Regions from separate parts of the Homo sapiens genome. Here all the other regions are linked to region 3. Evidence: promoter capture Hi-C in 16 types of primary human blood cells and fetal thymus (Javierre and others, 2016). All regions are on one chromosome and are shown on one strand. Each heading gives the region's core, a stretch centred on a gene start or on the middle of the fragment in contact. The rest is flanking DNA. Distances are from core to core; before and after follow the strand shown. Region 1 has its middle 12 kb from the start of ZBTB38. Region 2 overlaps PXYLP1 (2-phosphoxylose phosphatase 1). Region 3 holds the start of ATP1B3 (ATPase Na+/K+ transporting subunit beta 3). Region 4 holds the start of SLC25A36 (solute carrier family 25 member 36). Region 5 holds the start of TRPC1 (transient receptor potential cation channel subfamily C member 1).

Region 1 (2,700 bases), core at 173-2,672, 520 kb after region 3:
ATCTTGGTCTATCAAAATTTAACTTGCCTCTGAGGTTCAATTCAAATGTTCTCCCTAATATTTCTGCCTGGAAAGCCAGGCAGAAATGCCCCTTGCACCTCTGAATTAGTAGAATTCAACAGACTTCCTGTGGCGCTTACCTTGTCCTCTTTCATAGGCTGATTGGCTATATGACCACAGTTTCTGAATCAGAAGTTGGTGCTAATACTGTGTCAGTAAGAAAGAATATTACAAACCAGGACTACTTTAGAAAATTTGGATTATGTGGCTACCATAATAGCCTTCCCACTAGAGTGTATGATCTTTATTGGGAAACATCTTTTCCTCTCTCACAGAGTTCTCACCACGGTCTCTCAGATGAATAAAAGAGCTTAGGTTCCTTTTTTCTCTACAATGCATATAAAATGTGGTTAGGTGGTGTTAATTAAGGGTCTTACCTCTGCATTATACAACAAATAAATAAAAGCTAAGTTGATGATACAAACTTTTTTAAAGACCACAAAAATAGCCAGGCGCAGTGGTTCATGCTGTAATCCCAGCACTTTGGGAGGCTGAGGTGGGCAGATCACCTGAGCTCAGGAGTTCAAGACAAAAATTAGCAGGGCGTGGTGGCGGGTGCCTGTAGTCCCAGCTACTCAGGAGGCCGAGGCAGGAGAATCGCTTGAACCCCGGAGCCGGAACTTGCAGTGAGCCGAGATTGCGCCACTGCACTCAAGCCTGGGCAACAGAGCGAGACTTCATCTCGAAACAAACAAACAAATGAACAAACAAACAAAACAAAACAAAAAACAAAAGATGACAAAAATACCAAATGGAAAAATAAAAGAATATTTTTATAATGGAGGGTGCCTTCCTGAATAAGTCACAAAACTCCAAATACCATAAAGTAAGTCATTGATAGATTTCTTTGCATAAAAACCCTGTTTGGCTAAAGACACCATAAACACTGTTGAAAGACAAATGACATACTTTGAGAAAATATTTTCAGGAGAATAATAAAGGATTAATATCAGTGCTAATAGAACAAACAACACACAAGAAAGAGGGCAAAGAAAAAAAAGTAAGTCATAGAAAAAGTACCAATGACAAATAGTATATAAAACATGTTCAATATCACTAGCGTCAGGGAAATGGAGACCAACACAAGGAGGGTCATTTGCCTGTCGCATTGGCAAACATGGAAAAGATTAAGAATATGCCTAATGGTCAAGTGTATGGAGAAAAGATCAAACACAAATAGTAGTAATGAGAAAACAAATTGGTTCTATATAATTTATAACATATATTATACATAATTTTGAAGACAGCAATTTGGTAGTGATCTAATTATTTTCTGCAATGAACAGATATTACATTTATAGTTCCCAAGTGAACTTTTAAAAAAAGTCATTCTTGATGATTAATGAAGGAAATCTTAAATCTTTTTTCCCCAATTTCTCCATTCTAAGACACTTATATAGAATACGCTTATTAAGATAATTTCCCAGTTGTTTGCAATAACAAATAAGGAAGCCTAGCAGGAACAATCATCTTTAAAAGCTCTCCTCTAACACTTTAAGTGAGAATTTAAGAATTGCCCATATTTGCCTGGACTGATACAGCCAGAGCACTTGACCAATTGACCAACTCGATGAGGAGAGCAGGGAGGGGGACGAGATGCTGCTCTGCCTTGGTTTCCCCATCCCTGGCTTCCCTTGATTGGTATTTGGTTGTGTCAATGTGTTTTGTTTCCCTGATGCTTGGTGAGGCTTTCATGTAAGGTTAGATGTAGTACAGAATTGTGTCAGTCTTTATGGTCGACCAAATACCGAGGCTTCCCCTGAACCTGGCATATTTTCTTACCCTACTGTCTTTCCTAAACAGAGCCGCAGCAGCCCTGTAACACTTTTGTATGAGTGAGAAAAGGTGTCCCTTGAAGTGTAGCCCCATGCCAGGATGCAAGGCTGGGCGAGGGAAGAGCCGTCTGTCTTCTCACCCCTGGGCCACTGTATGAGCAGTCCTATTCCTTACTCCAGCCCTAGTCCAACTGCTGTGCAGGAAATCCTAACAAATTGCCATTTCCTCACTTCCCATGGTCCCAGGGCACAGCAGCATCTGCTACAGTTAATGCTTTCTTTCCATGGCTCCTCTTTCAGAACTGCCCTTTGAGATTTCATCAGGGCTCCACATCGCCTTTGTTAATGCACTTGGCCACACAACCCCCACTCCACCACACACACACAAACACACACCTATAGGCTGAGTGTTCACCCATGAAACAGAGTGGCAGAGAAGTTAATTGGTGTCCTTTTTACTGCTGCGGCCTTACCAGCAAAAAAGCATGATAAGGGAATTTCTTCTTAGCTTTGAATTTTGTGTCTTGGGCTGGCTCTCCTTCCTCAGGGGGAAAGAAATAGCCCTTTGTGCTTTGGAGCCTAAAACAGAGAAGTTTTTGGGCTCCCAGGATAAAGCCCCTCCACTCAGATCTTTGTTTGAAATCCAGACTGATTAAGAAGAATTATTCAGGATGGTGGAGACAGTTGCTGTGGCTAAAGGAGGAGAGGATGGTCCAGCCCTACTGGTGACCCCCCTAAGATGGGAAGTCTGTGTGGGAGGTGGGTGTTTGGGCTAGAGATTTACAGGGTGGCAGGGATCTACATCCCACCCCTGCTGTGTGAACTCAGGTGGGAGCTACTGGAAAGCCTGTGGAGGCTGCACACT
Region 2 (2,700 bases), core at 88-2,587, 640 kb after region 3:
AGAGAACCTCTGACATCTACAAACCTTGAGAAGTCCTTTCAGGTTTCTGGGTGCTACATACAGAGTTTTTGTTTGTTTGTTTGACTTGCAGAAAGTTTTAGAGAAAACCAATGCCTATTTTTATCCCTAAGAATAGGACCACCTACAATTTTCAAAAAACTATGTAACCACATTTGGTTATCAAGCAACGTGGGCAGGGATATCCAGGTTTACATAGTATTTCTCTGCTTATGAGATCTGAATTCTAGAGGAAGCCTTTTAACCATCCCAAGGTCCCATCTCCCCATCTCTAAGCAGATCGCAGGCTTATTGAATCAAATGAGATATGGACAAAGTTGCTTTTTTATATAGTAAGGTACTGTATAAACATAATGCATGATCCTAATAATTAATATAACTTGCATAAAATATTATATACTTATTAATCTATACTTGCCAAATTTTCTATACTTTCAAGATAGTTCATATTTATATCTATGTTTTAAGATTTAAGCTTAATAGTTTATTTCTGTAAGTCCCTCCATTATTATTTCTGAGCTTCCAAAAATTTGTTCTACAACTTTACTAACTTTACGGTAATCCAACTGCCACTTTCATTTTAGAAGCATAAAGCCTTAACAAGACAGTAAATGTTTAATTCTAACTAGATTCTCCTATGTCTGCAGAGAACAAACAGCAAGTAAGAGCTTCATTTTATTTTACGGTTAAAAGCTCAAAATGATACTGCTGGATCTCTGAAGGCCTGAAGGTTGGTGTTAGATCCAAGAATGAGGTAAGCTTAGGAAAGCAAGCTGTGGTTTTGTTGGTTGAAAAGACACATGTCTCTGAATAACTGAGGGGTGGGACAAATAGTATTCAAAATGATTTGTAACTTTAATGTAAATGATGGCTGTAACCACAAACAGAAGTGGAGGAGGAAAGGGGAGAGAGTGGGGGCATCAAAACCAGGTGCAATAATTTTCATCTTAATATGCTTTTTAATCAATATGCTATTGATTACAGCTCTTTCTGAGGAAGCTGGTCACACCCAGGGGCATAAGGGTGGCGAGCAGGTGACAAAAGGATGCCCTGTAAACTGAAACATGAGTGTGTAAATTGGGGAAATGATTCTGCAAATACAAAGAGAATTTTAAAGTTACTACAGTCTCTACTACCACATGTTTGAGTTCCCCCAAACTCTCCTCCACCCTCGAGTACGCAGCTCAGAGGGAGCTCCACTGATGGAGGGAGGGGCAGACGCATGCACAGATGACTGTGGGCCAAGGGAATGAGGTGAAGGGTGCCTCCTGACTGCAGAAACTACTCCCCAAGCCGCCATCCAGTTCTTCTTCCATGCCTTTTTAATCATTAACTTCTTCCAGACTCCTGAGATTGTTCCCGCCATCACTGCAGACTGAACTTTTTCCAAAAGCCAGTGGCTTCCCCAGCCAAAGTCCAAAAAGGGTCAGAGAAGCCTGCTGGTTTTGAGGGTGGAGGATAAACAGGCCAGAGTCTGTGGCTCAGTTAGGTGTTAGTTGGCCAGGGCCCTCCTGCCTTTTGGACTCAGAGCGGACCCTGAAATTCATTCTGGGTTCACGGGTGCCTCCTCGTGGCTGCCATGCAGCATCTCCAGGTTGAGAGGCTCCAATGGGCCGTCGTTTACCTGCAAGGCTGCACAGCAGGTTCAAAAAGAGTCCCTGGGAGATGCTTCTATCAAAAGGCCCACCATCCTACTAGAAAGCTGCTCCCTCTTCTTCACCTCCTAAATACAGGTGCACAGACCTTCCAAGCCACTGCTCCTTTTGTCACTTACCTAGACTCTCCCCTCAGCACCTCAGGTGAGATGAAGTGGCAATGGCTGCAATCTGAAGTGGCCATGGGGGCTCTCCAAGTGGTACCCTGTCTCCCTGGAAGCTTCCTCCATTGGAAAATGGGTGATGTCAAAGGGGACTGGGGCTACAGCTCAGGGCCTATAAATTAAGCCATGGTAAAGTGGCTTCCCAGGCCAAACCCCAGACCAATCTTGCTCAAGCCATTATTTCCAAAAGGGCACACACCTCATTCAAAAACTTCAAACAGCTCAGTGCTCTCCTGCCGTGCTAAGCCCAAGTCTCAGCTGGCTTTCAAGGCCTTCTCAAAACCAGAATGATGGGCCCAGCAAATGGATTTCAGATTCCCATGGGGTCATTTTTCCTATCTCAGTGACTTTGCTCCTAACTGGTAACCCCTACACTGGAATGTGGGCACACTTCCTTATCCACCAACCAGGAACCTTGTCCAGGGACAGGTTCTGGGGCCAAAATCTCCCCCTATGAATTTTCAGGACCTTGAACATTCTCCTATCCTTTCTCCCACCCACCTCTAGATAGTAGTATGTCTCTTTCTCCCTCTCCTCCCTTTCTCTTACTCACAGACTGCAGGCATTAATTAAACCTCTTCTAGAAAACAGATTTTCACCAGCTGCAGGAATTCTGAGCCAGACCTGAAGACAGAGACAATCTGGGTAAGAAAGATAAGTTCGTGACAGCCAGGGGCAGTGCAGGCTCCCACAGCCAAGTGGCAGTCTCAATTTTAGCCCTTTCCAGATTCCCCCACAAAAAAAGGGGGACATGAGGTGTTCCCACCCCCTCAGCATTTGGCTGTACTGCCTGGGGGTGGCCTTTGACAGAGGCACAAGAGCTGGACCTTGCCCCATCTGCCAGTGGGTTATAGCCACCTCCA
Region 3 (2,700 bases), core at 148-2,647:
TCAGTCTGCACCAACAGTTTATTTTCTGAGTCACAGCTTATTTCTCCATGCTTATCCTAAAAATGTTGTGCCCAAATAGTTCTAAGCTCTCGAGATTTATTCCCACTCAGAAAGAAATGGTCTTTCAAGACCCACTAACAAAATGTTTCAAAAGGATTTAAAAAGGTAAAATTAGTTTACTTAAGTATAAAGGCAAAAAAAAAAAAAAGCTCTAGCCTGCATTCAGAGATTGATACAATTTTAGGAAAAAAAGGCATCCTAAAGCTACTCTACACGGTAGATGGTTTAAATATATTAAAACAAAGAGCTCACGCATAGAAAAAATCTGCTAACATACAACCATCACTCTCCTGTTTTGAAGACACGGGAAAAAAAAAAAAAACCTGTGTTGTTCAGACAGGATTTACTTTCCCCAAAGAAGCAAATTTGTAAGGAAGAAAACCTCTGTAATTAAAAAGGAATCCGGGAGGAACCAACCTTTTTAAGGGCCTTTTCACTGTCCAAATTCAAGTGCATTTTCTTGTACAATGTACTTCTGTGATTAACTCACCGCTACACGTTTAAGCAACCCACACCCACACTTAACACTCAGTCGCACTCTTCCGACCGGTCGGGGTGGCAGCGTGGACGAGTCACAAGATAGCGGCGGGAGTGGAAATTTCCTCTCCCCTGGAGTGGGGCAGGGTCTGGCTTCTCCGAACCGCTCAGCGGGCCGGGCGCCTCCGCCAGGGCCTCTCGGGCCGGAGCGCTCCGTACAAAGGAGGCCCGGGGGCTCGGCTCCTGCACTCTCGGGGCCCGGCTTCGGGCAGGGGTCCCCGGCTTCCGGCGCCGCGCCGGGCGGGAGGCCCGGGCAGCACGTGCGCCCCGCTCCCAGCAGGGAGGGAGGAACCAGCGCGGCCCGGCCGGGCTGCCCGCGGGCCCCGCTGCTTCGGGAGCGAGCTGCGGCCAGTCCGGCCGGCCCGGGGAGCAATGAATGGGGCCGCACTGCGCCGCCGCCGCCCGGGTTAGGGTCGGGCGGTCGGGAGCCCCGGCGCTGGGAGCCGCCTCCCGCCTTTCCGTTCCCACCAGACCGCGCCCGGCGCCCCCGGGACCGAGGCCGGCCCCGGACGCCCAGCTGCTGCCCGCTCACCCCAGCTCTTGGCGGTGCGCCCCAGGAATTCTCCGGTGGTCGGGTTGTAGATGAAGAGCTTCCACTCGGCCAGGCTCTGGTTGAGGGACTTCTTCTCGTTCTTCGTCATGGTGTGCGCGCGGACGGCGAGAGGAGCTGCGGCCGCGGGGATGGAGGCGGCGAGGGCTGCGGAGGCGCGTCCCGGCTCCGGCGGCGCAGCCCGGAGACGGCAGTGAAGGGTGGGACGGCCGAGAACACCTCCTCGTTACGGGGAGTACTCGAGCCGACTGCGCCGCGCCGCGCCGGGCGGCCGCTTGGGCCGCGGGAGCCTGACGTCTCCGCCCGCCGCAGCCAATCCCCGCGCCGCTCGGCCCGCGCCGCTGCCGCCTCCCGCCAGCGGCCGGGGCGCTGCCTGAGGCGGCGAGGGCGCCCCACCCCGCCCCGGCCCCGCCCCGCAGTAGCCTCGGGGGCTCCCTCAGCCTGGGTCAGAGGAAGCGAGAAGAAAGTCTAAAAATCCGAAGGTTTAGTCGCACGCACGTTTATAATAATAGCAAAAGGCGGGCGTCCCCGCGCCGCAGGTTGCTTAGGAGGAGGACTGGGTTTCCTGGGCGTTCCTGGGCGCCGGGGCGCTGAGAAGATGCTACCCGCGGCGGGCGGGTGCGGAGAGCACGAAAACGACTCCAGTCGGCCCGCGGCTTCCTCTCTGAGGGAACTTAATCGTCCCCTCCCCGAACTGCCTCCCCGACCGTCCCCAGGCGTTCTCTGGGCTCTGTGACGTTCCTACAGGACGCTCTCTGGGCTCTGTGACGTTCCTACAGGACGCTCTCTGGGCTCTGTGACGTTCCTACAGGACGCTCTCTGGGCTCTGTGACGTTCCTACAGGACGCTCTGCGGGGGATCGCGCGGGGCTCCCACAATGTACACGGTGCACTGCTGTTCTGAGAACGTCCTCGCTTGGCTCCCTTGAAGGGTTCAACCGGGAGCCTCGGGTCAATGGGAATTCCGTTCTAAATATGCCAGTGAATGGAGTATAATTTTTCTCGGGATTCAGTTGAATTTATCAATGAAATCTAAATACGTGCTTTCCCAAGGGTCCTGGCAACTGAAAGCTCCCAGCTTTTGCCCAGACGCTCCTACTCTTAACCCACAGGAAAGGAACACTCGTTGGAGGGTCCACGCCTGTGTAGTGTCGCCGGCTTTTCATCTCCCCTGTAGAGATCGCGGCCCTTGGGCGGAGCTGAGGGTGCCGGTAGCGTTTTCCTCCGCGAGATGGAGCTGACGAGTACGGGAGGGGGGGTGCCCTCAGACTCAGCGACAGGATAAAAGACTTTATAGGAATTTGCACAGAAGGTGCGGGGTGGGGGAGGTTGTTGTTGTTGTTGTTTATTTATTTATTTTTAGAAAAAAGCTCTGCCTCCGTTTTATTAGCAAATAAAAATTATGGAGAAATGTAATAGCCATCTTATTGTTTGGAGTGATGAATTATAATCTGTCTGGAAGTTTAAACAGCCTGCAAATGGATGAATTTTCCTTTTTCCTCACTTTTCTTACCAAAGCAAGAAATAATGAATTATACCTCCCACAAATGGAAA
Region 4 (2,700 bases), core at 75-2,574, 930 kb after region 3:
AAACTCTTTATAATCCTCCAAATAAGTAACTCTTAAAATTGCTATGATTCTCCAAATGATTTAGAAGGAGCAAATCTAAACAGGAGGCTAAACTGGAAGCTCTAACACTCATTTTGGCAATCAGGGAACTAAGACTTTAGGCTTAGTCCTAATCTTGCACACACATAGTAACTATTAACACTATCTTCAAAAAATCTGACCTCTCTCCACTCCTACTTTCTCCTAAGCAGCAGAAAAGCAAGCGGTGTTCAAGAGGGGTGGTTTTCTCGAAAGGAATCTGACCCCAAAGGTACTGGAAAGCTTTGCACCCCATTCACCACCTGGAAAACCTCGGGCAAGAAATTTTCCAAGGGCTAGAAACACCCTACAGCAACCACGGGAGAATACCAAAGCCTTCCCCGCTCGATCCCGTAGCCCCCTTACCACCCACCTTGCAAAGCCGAGCCCGGAAATGAGCGGCCCGAGGTCCGAGGTGGGGCGTGAGTGACGTGCAGAGGCCCAAGCGAGCGCTGCAAGGAGCGAGGGCTAAAGGAGTCTCCGGCGCCCATTTTGTCCTCAGCCTCCGCACTTTCCGCCCCGTCCCCTTGGGCCATGCAACCTACGCGAAATCCGAAGCCAGGCTCCTCAAAGCGGCCCTGGATCCCCGACGCCTGCTAGATTGCGGCGTGCGGCCAGGTCCAGCGGCGTCCGGGTAATCAAGCGCCGACCCCAGCTCTTGCCCGCGTCTCCTCAGACGCATGGATTCGGCCTCCGCCTCACCCCGGCCCCGCGGGCCCAAAACCTCACTCCCGGCCCGGGTTTCATGCCTCAACCCTCTTTGCCCGGGCCTCACTCTCTCGCCCTCGGGCCCGGGCCTCACCCCCTTGCTTCCCCGAACCGGAGCCCCCCTCACCACCCACGGGCTGGGTCGCTCCCCTCACCCGCAGGCCCGTGGCAGCTCCCCGCCCAGGCCTCACTCCCGCCCCCCCACCCCCCCACCCCCCTCGGCCCCCCTCGCCCCCCTCGCCTGCGTCTTCGGCCCCAGCACCCTCAGCCCCAGTGCGCACGCCCCGCCAGGACCTTACCCTCCGGCAAACAGATGCACCAGCGTGTCCCTCTGGCTCATTCTCTCTCCCGCATGTCCTCCGGCCGCTGAGGCGGGACGCGGATCTGGCCGCCCGCTACGGCAGGCGGCTTCGGTCCCGGACTGGAGACGCACAGCGCCCCGGGGACGGCGAGGAGAGCTGGCCGAGATGCGGCTGCAGAAAGCAACCGGCACAGCCCTCCCCGCGGCACTCCAGCCGCGCCACCGCCTGCCTAAGCGCGCCGCCCTTCACCAGAGGCTGAAAGCGACGCAGCGCAGCGCGACGGAGAGTGGGCGGGGGATGGTAGGGGGAAGATGACTATTTGATGGCTCCCGACATAAACAGAGGCTCCCATTGGTGTGAGCGTCGTGACGTCACGCACTCTGCAGTGTTCTTTCACGTGATCCCTACGGGCTCTTTCAATGAAAGGGGCCGCGAGGCGTGGCCAGAACGCGTGCCCGGAGGGTGGTAGGTCACCGCGCTCCTAGCACCTGAGACCTGGGGCGCCCCTGGCCTGAGTGAACGCGCCAATCACGGCTGCACTCTCCTGAACAGGGAACTGGCGGGGCGGGAAAAATCGACTTGGTTCCGGGTTCGCAAGCGGATTTACTTTGAAAAAATTGGATTTATGACCCAGCAGTTCCCTTGGTGTCTATCTCAGAGTAACCCTCGCACAATGCATAAAAAGGTTTGTGCACGGATACTCCTATATAGGCTCACAAACAGTACAGAATTATGAACAATGCTTGCAGTTGCAGAAAATTGAAATCAGTGGGGGAATGAAGAAATAAATCATGAAACATTCCTACTATGGAATATTATGCAATCGTGACAAGGGATGAGGTGATTCCATATGGCAAAAAATCTCCCGAAGTGTGTAATAAGTAAAAAAGGCAAGTAGAATTAAAATACTTGGGTTTGTTTTTAAAAGAATAAAAGTTCATGGGAAATGGAATTAAAAGATAAAATTTAAAAATATAAACTTTGTTTTTCAACGTAAGCTCCATCAAGTTAAAGACAGTTTGGTAAGTGATGATACCGGCTCTTTAGTCCATCTGTAAAGAATTGAGGGTTCTGGGAATTTAATCATGAAAATGCAGGCTTTTTTACGTTATTAACTGAAGAAAAATGGGTGCCATTTACAGATTTTTCACGATTAGAAAACAAAAATATGTCAGAAGGAGCCAGGTCAGGAATGTAAGATGGATACCTGATAGTTTCCCATCGAAATCCCTGGAAAAATGCCCTTATTTAAAGAGAGGAATGAGCAGGAACATTGTCCTGATGGAGAAGGACTCTCTGGTGAAGATTTCGTAGGTGTTTTTATGCTAAAGCTTTGCTTCACTTTCTCCTATAGTAAGCGGATGTTATTGCTCTTCCACCCTCCAGAAAGTCAACAGGCAAAATACCTTGAGCATCCCAAAAAGCTGCTGCTATGACTTCGGCTCTTGACCAGTCTACTTTTGATTTGACTGGACCACTTGCACCTCTTGGTAACTATTGCTTTGATCCAGAATCATACTGAGAAAGCTATGTTTGATCTCCTGTTACAATTCTTCAAAGAAATGTTTCAATATATGATCCCACTTGTTTACAATTTCCATTGAAAGCCCTGCTCTTGTCTGCAGCTCATCTG
Region 5 (2,700 bases), core at 60-2,559, 850 kb before region 3:
TTGGCAACTAAGGCAGAATTTCTTCCGTCCCGTCCTTACTTCATGTATCTCCACCTAGGATATTCCGTTATTAATGCCAGTCAACAGTCACTGGCTAAAGCACTGGTCAGGTGAAGCTAAATAATAGAGGGTCTGGTTTTGTTTTTAAGAAAAACAAAAACCAGGTGATGAGAACCCTCCATACGAGGCATCCTAAGGTAAGGTGACGGAATTTTCCGACTGGAGTGTCGGAAACTAGCCTCTCGACTCCCGGAAGGAATGAACTGCGAGCCAGAGAGAAGACCAGGTCATTCATGCGGTCAGTAGCAAGGGCGGCGCTAAAACGCTGGGGTCGGGGCTCCCAAGGCGCTACCTAAACCCCGGACCCCAAGGCCAGAGCCACCCCCGACGGTGCAGCGCTCCGAGGGCGCAGCCCCAGCTCCACTCTCCCGCCAGCTCCACACTCACAGGGCAGAGGCGGTGAGGAGAAGACCGCCTGAGGCAGCAGGCGAGGCGGGAAGACACTCGGCGCCTGAGACAGAGGGAATGCCCCGATATAAGTTGAGGCGGGGGAGAGGACTAAAGGTCTGGAGGACAGGGGCGTCCAGAGGAGAAAGGGGCCTAACTCTCACCCTTGTCGCACGCCAGCAAGAAAAGCTTCTCATTCAGCGTATTCTCCTCCTTCACCTCCCGCACATCCTTCAGCGCCATCACCTCGTTCGGCGAGGAAGAGGATGGAGAGGAAGGCAGGGAGGAGGAGGAGGCGCCCGAGAGGTCCGTGCTCGGGTACAGGGCCGCCATCATCGCGGCCCATGAAGGGGGCAGGCCAGGAGACGGGGGCGGGGCCCCCACCGGCCCCGACCCCGACCCCGACCCCAGCCACGCCCCAGGGCTGGAAAAAGGATGAGTCGTTCCCACTGCTGCCTCGGCTCGAGGCCCGTTGGCCCCGAAGGGCGTCGCCTCCCCTGAGAACCAGCACTCGCCCTCCACTGACAGCCCCAAGTTGGTGGCGGCGCATGCGCGGCCCCGGGGCCAGCGACCCCTCCCCAGCCGCCGGCGCCCCGGCCGAGCCGGTCCGCGCCCGTCCGGGGACGACAGTGTGGCGCGCGCCAGGGCGGCAGCCGAGCACGGGGCCGTGCCAGGAGTCGCAGGGGCCGCGCCTGGGGCGGCCTAGCCCAGGAAGAGGACGAGAGATCTGTGGGAGAGGAGCTCCAAGAGGCGCTTCTGCGCACGTTGGGCTCCAGGGCTGTGGGAACCGCTGGCCCAGCTGCGCTCCGAGGAGATGTTCGCGACTCTGTCCTCACGTCATCCTCTGCTCCTCTGTAGCGACGACACTAGGGAGGAGCCTGCGGCAAGGGCGGGCTTGGGTGGGCGGGGCCTGCGGCAAGCGGGGCGTGGGTGGGTGGGGCCTGCGGTGGGGACGCACTGGGCTCCTGGAGCCCGCTGCAGCTTCCTTCGCTCTGGTGAGGTGAACCGCAGTCTGAGGAAGACTTCGCTCAATCGTCCCTTTCCACACCCAGGGTACTGGTTTAAGGTAATTAAGCAAATATGGAGCAGTATGTTAATTGAGTCTCTGACGACTTAATGTTTAGTCGAAATCCTTTGTGGAATTGTCCAGCTATTTCATATTCTGGTGCACTATGCTTTAAAGCACAATGGAGAGCCAGACTCGTGGGTTTGTATGTTGTACTCATTTTAGGCTGGAAATGAACTCTCATTTATAAAGGATATATAGATATATAATTATATTATGTTTAAATAATTTATACAAATATATAAATTTTTATTTCCATATTATTTCCATAGGTTTTTGAGGAACAGGTGGTGTTTGGTTACATGAGTAAGTTCTTTAGTGATGATTTGTGAGATTTTGATGTACCCATCATCGAGCAGTATACACTGAACCTAATTTTGTAGTCTTTTATCCCTCTCCCCCTTCCCAACCTTTCCCCGAGTCCCGAAAGTCCATTGTGTCATTCCTATGCCTTTGCATCCTCAAAGCTTAGCTCTCACTTGTGAGTGAGAACATACGATGTTTGGTTTTCCATTCCTGAGTTACTTCATTTAGAATAAGAATAATAGTCTCCAGTCCCATCCAGGTTTCTGCGAATGCCATTTATTCATTCCTTTTTATGGCTGAGTAGTATTCCATCATTATATATATATCACATATATATATACCACATATATATATATATATATATATATCACAGTTTCTTTATCCACTCATTGATTCATGGGCATTTGGGTTGGCTCCACATTTTTGCAATTGCGAATTGTGCTGCTATAAATATGCATGGGCAAGTATCTTTTTCGTGTAATGACTTCTTTTCCTCTGGGTAGATACCCAGTAGTGGGATTACTGGATCAAATGGTAGTTCTACTTTTAGTTCTCTAAGGAATCTCCACACTGTTTTCCATAGTGGTGTACTAGTTTACAGTCCCACCAGTAATGTAGAAGTGTTCCCTTTTCACCGCATCCACACCAACAGCTATTATTTTTTGATTTTTTTGATTATGGCCATTCTTGCGGAAGTAGGGTGGTACATACGGCATAGCAGTTTTGACTTGGAATTCCCTGATCATTAGTGATCTTGAGCATTTTTTCATATGTTTGTTGGCCATTTGTGTATCTTCTTTTGAGAATTGTCTATTCATGTTTTTTTGTTTTTTCTTGAGACAGAGTTTTGCTCTTGTTGCCCAGGCTGGAGTGCAATGGCG

What was found. The method cuts DNA at HindIII sites, captures the fragments that hold promoters and counts their contacts. A CHiCAGO score of 5 or more calls a contact.
Region 1: a fragment that was not itself captured here is called in contact with the fragment with the promoter of ATP1B3 in region 3 in 1 of 17 cell types (naive B cells); the score reaches 5.3 in naive B cells.
Region 2: a fragment that was not itself captured here is called in contact with the fragment with the promoter of ATP1B3 in region 3 in 2 of 17 cell types (activated CD4 T cells and fetal thymus); the score reaches 7.4 in activated CD4 T cells.
Region 4: a contact is called between the fragment with the promoter of SLC25A36 here and the fragment with the promoter of ATP1B3 in region 3, in 1 of 17 cell types (activated CD4 T cells). The highest score is 5.1, in activated CD4 T cells.
Region 5: the fragment with the promoter of TRPC1 here is called in contact with the fragment with the promoter of ATP1B3 in region 3 in 2 of 17 cell types (fetal thymus and total CD8 T cells); the score reaches 5.7 in fetal thymus.

The regions. Positions count from the first base shown.
Region 1 is chr3:141,355,592-141,358,291 of GRCh38, reverse strand. It overlaps a transcript of ZBTB38 not described here. Among named protein-coding and RNA genes, the nearest start is that of ZBTB38, 12 kb to the left of the region's middle. The HindIII fragment of the contact is 7,008 bases long and covers 1-2,700 here.
Region 2 is chr3:141,234,647-141,237,346 of GRCh38, reverse strand. The region is part of intron 1 of PXYLP1 (2-phosphoxylose phosphatase 1); the gene reads right to left. Among named protein-coding and RNA genes, the nearest start is that of PXYLP1, 4.2 kb to the right of the region's middle. The HindIII fragment of the contact is 1,116 bases long and covers 780-1,895 here.
Region 3 is chr3:141,875,340-141,878,039 of GRCh38, reverse strand. It overlaps ATP1B3 (ATPase Na+/K+ transporting subunit beta 3), which reads right to left and starts at 1,397. Exons shown (of 7, transcript NM_001679.4): 1 at 1,130-1,397. The coding sequence starts at 1,238. RefSeq lists silencers at 603-1,172, 1,443-1,572, 2,443-2,502. The HindIII fragment of the contact is 6,749 bases long and covers 1-2,700 here.
Region 4 is chr3:140,940,460-140,943,159 of GRCh38, reverse strand. SLC25A36 (solute carrier family 25 member 36) reads right to left here and starts at 1,324. Exons shown (of 7, transcript NM_001104647.3): 1 at 1,065-1,324. The coding sequence starts at 1,105. RefSeq lists enhancers at 171-400, 40-887, 981-1,350. The HindIII fragment of the contact is 2,098 bases long and covers 303-2,400 here.
Region 5 is chr3:142,722,643-142,725,342 of GRCh38, reverse strand. TRPC1 (transient receptor potential cation channel subfamily C member 1) reads right to left here and starts at 1,309. Exons shown (of 13, transcript NM_001251845.2): 1 at 612-1,309. The coding sequence starts at 783. RefSeq lists an enhancer at 1-757 and a silencer at 1,016-1,065. The HindIII fragment of the contact is 1,344 bases long and covers 639-1,982 here.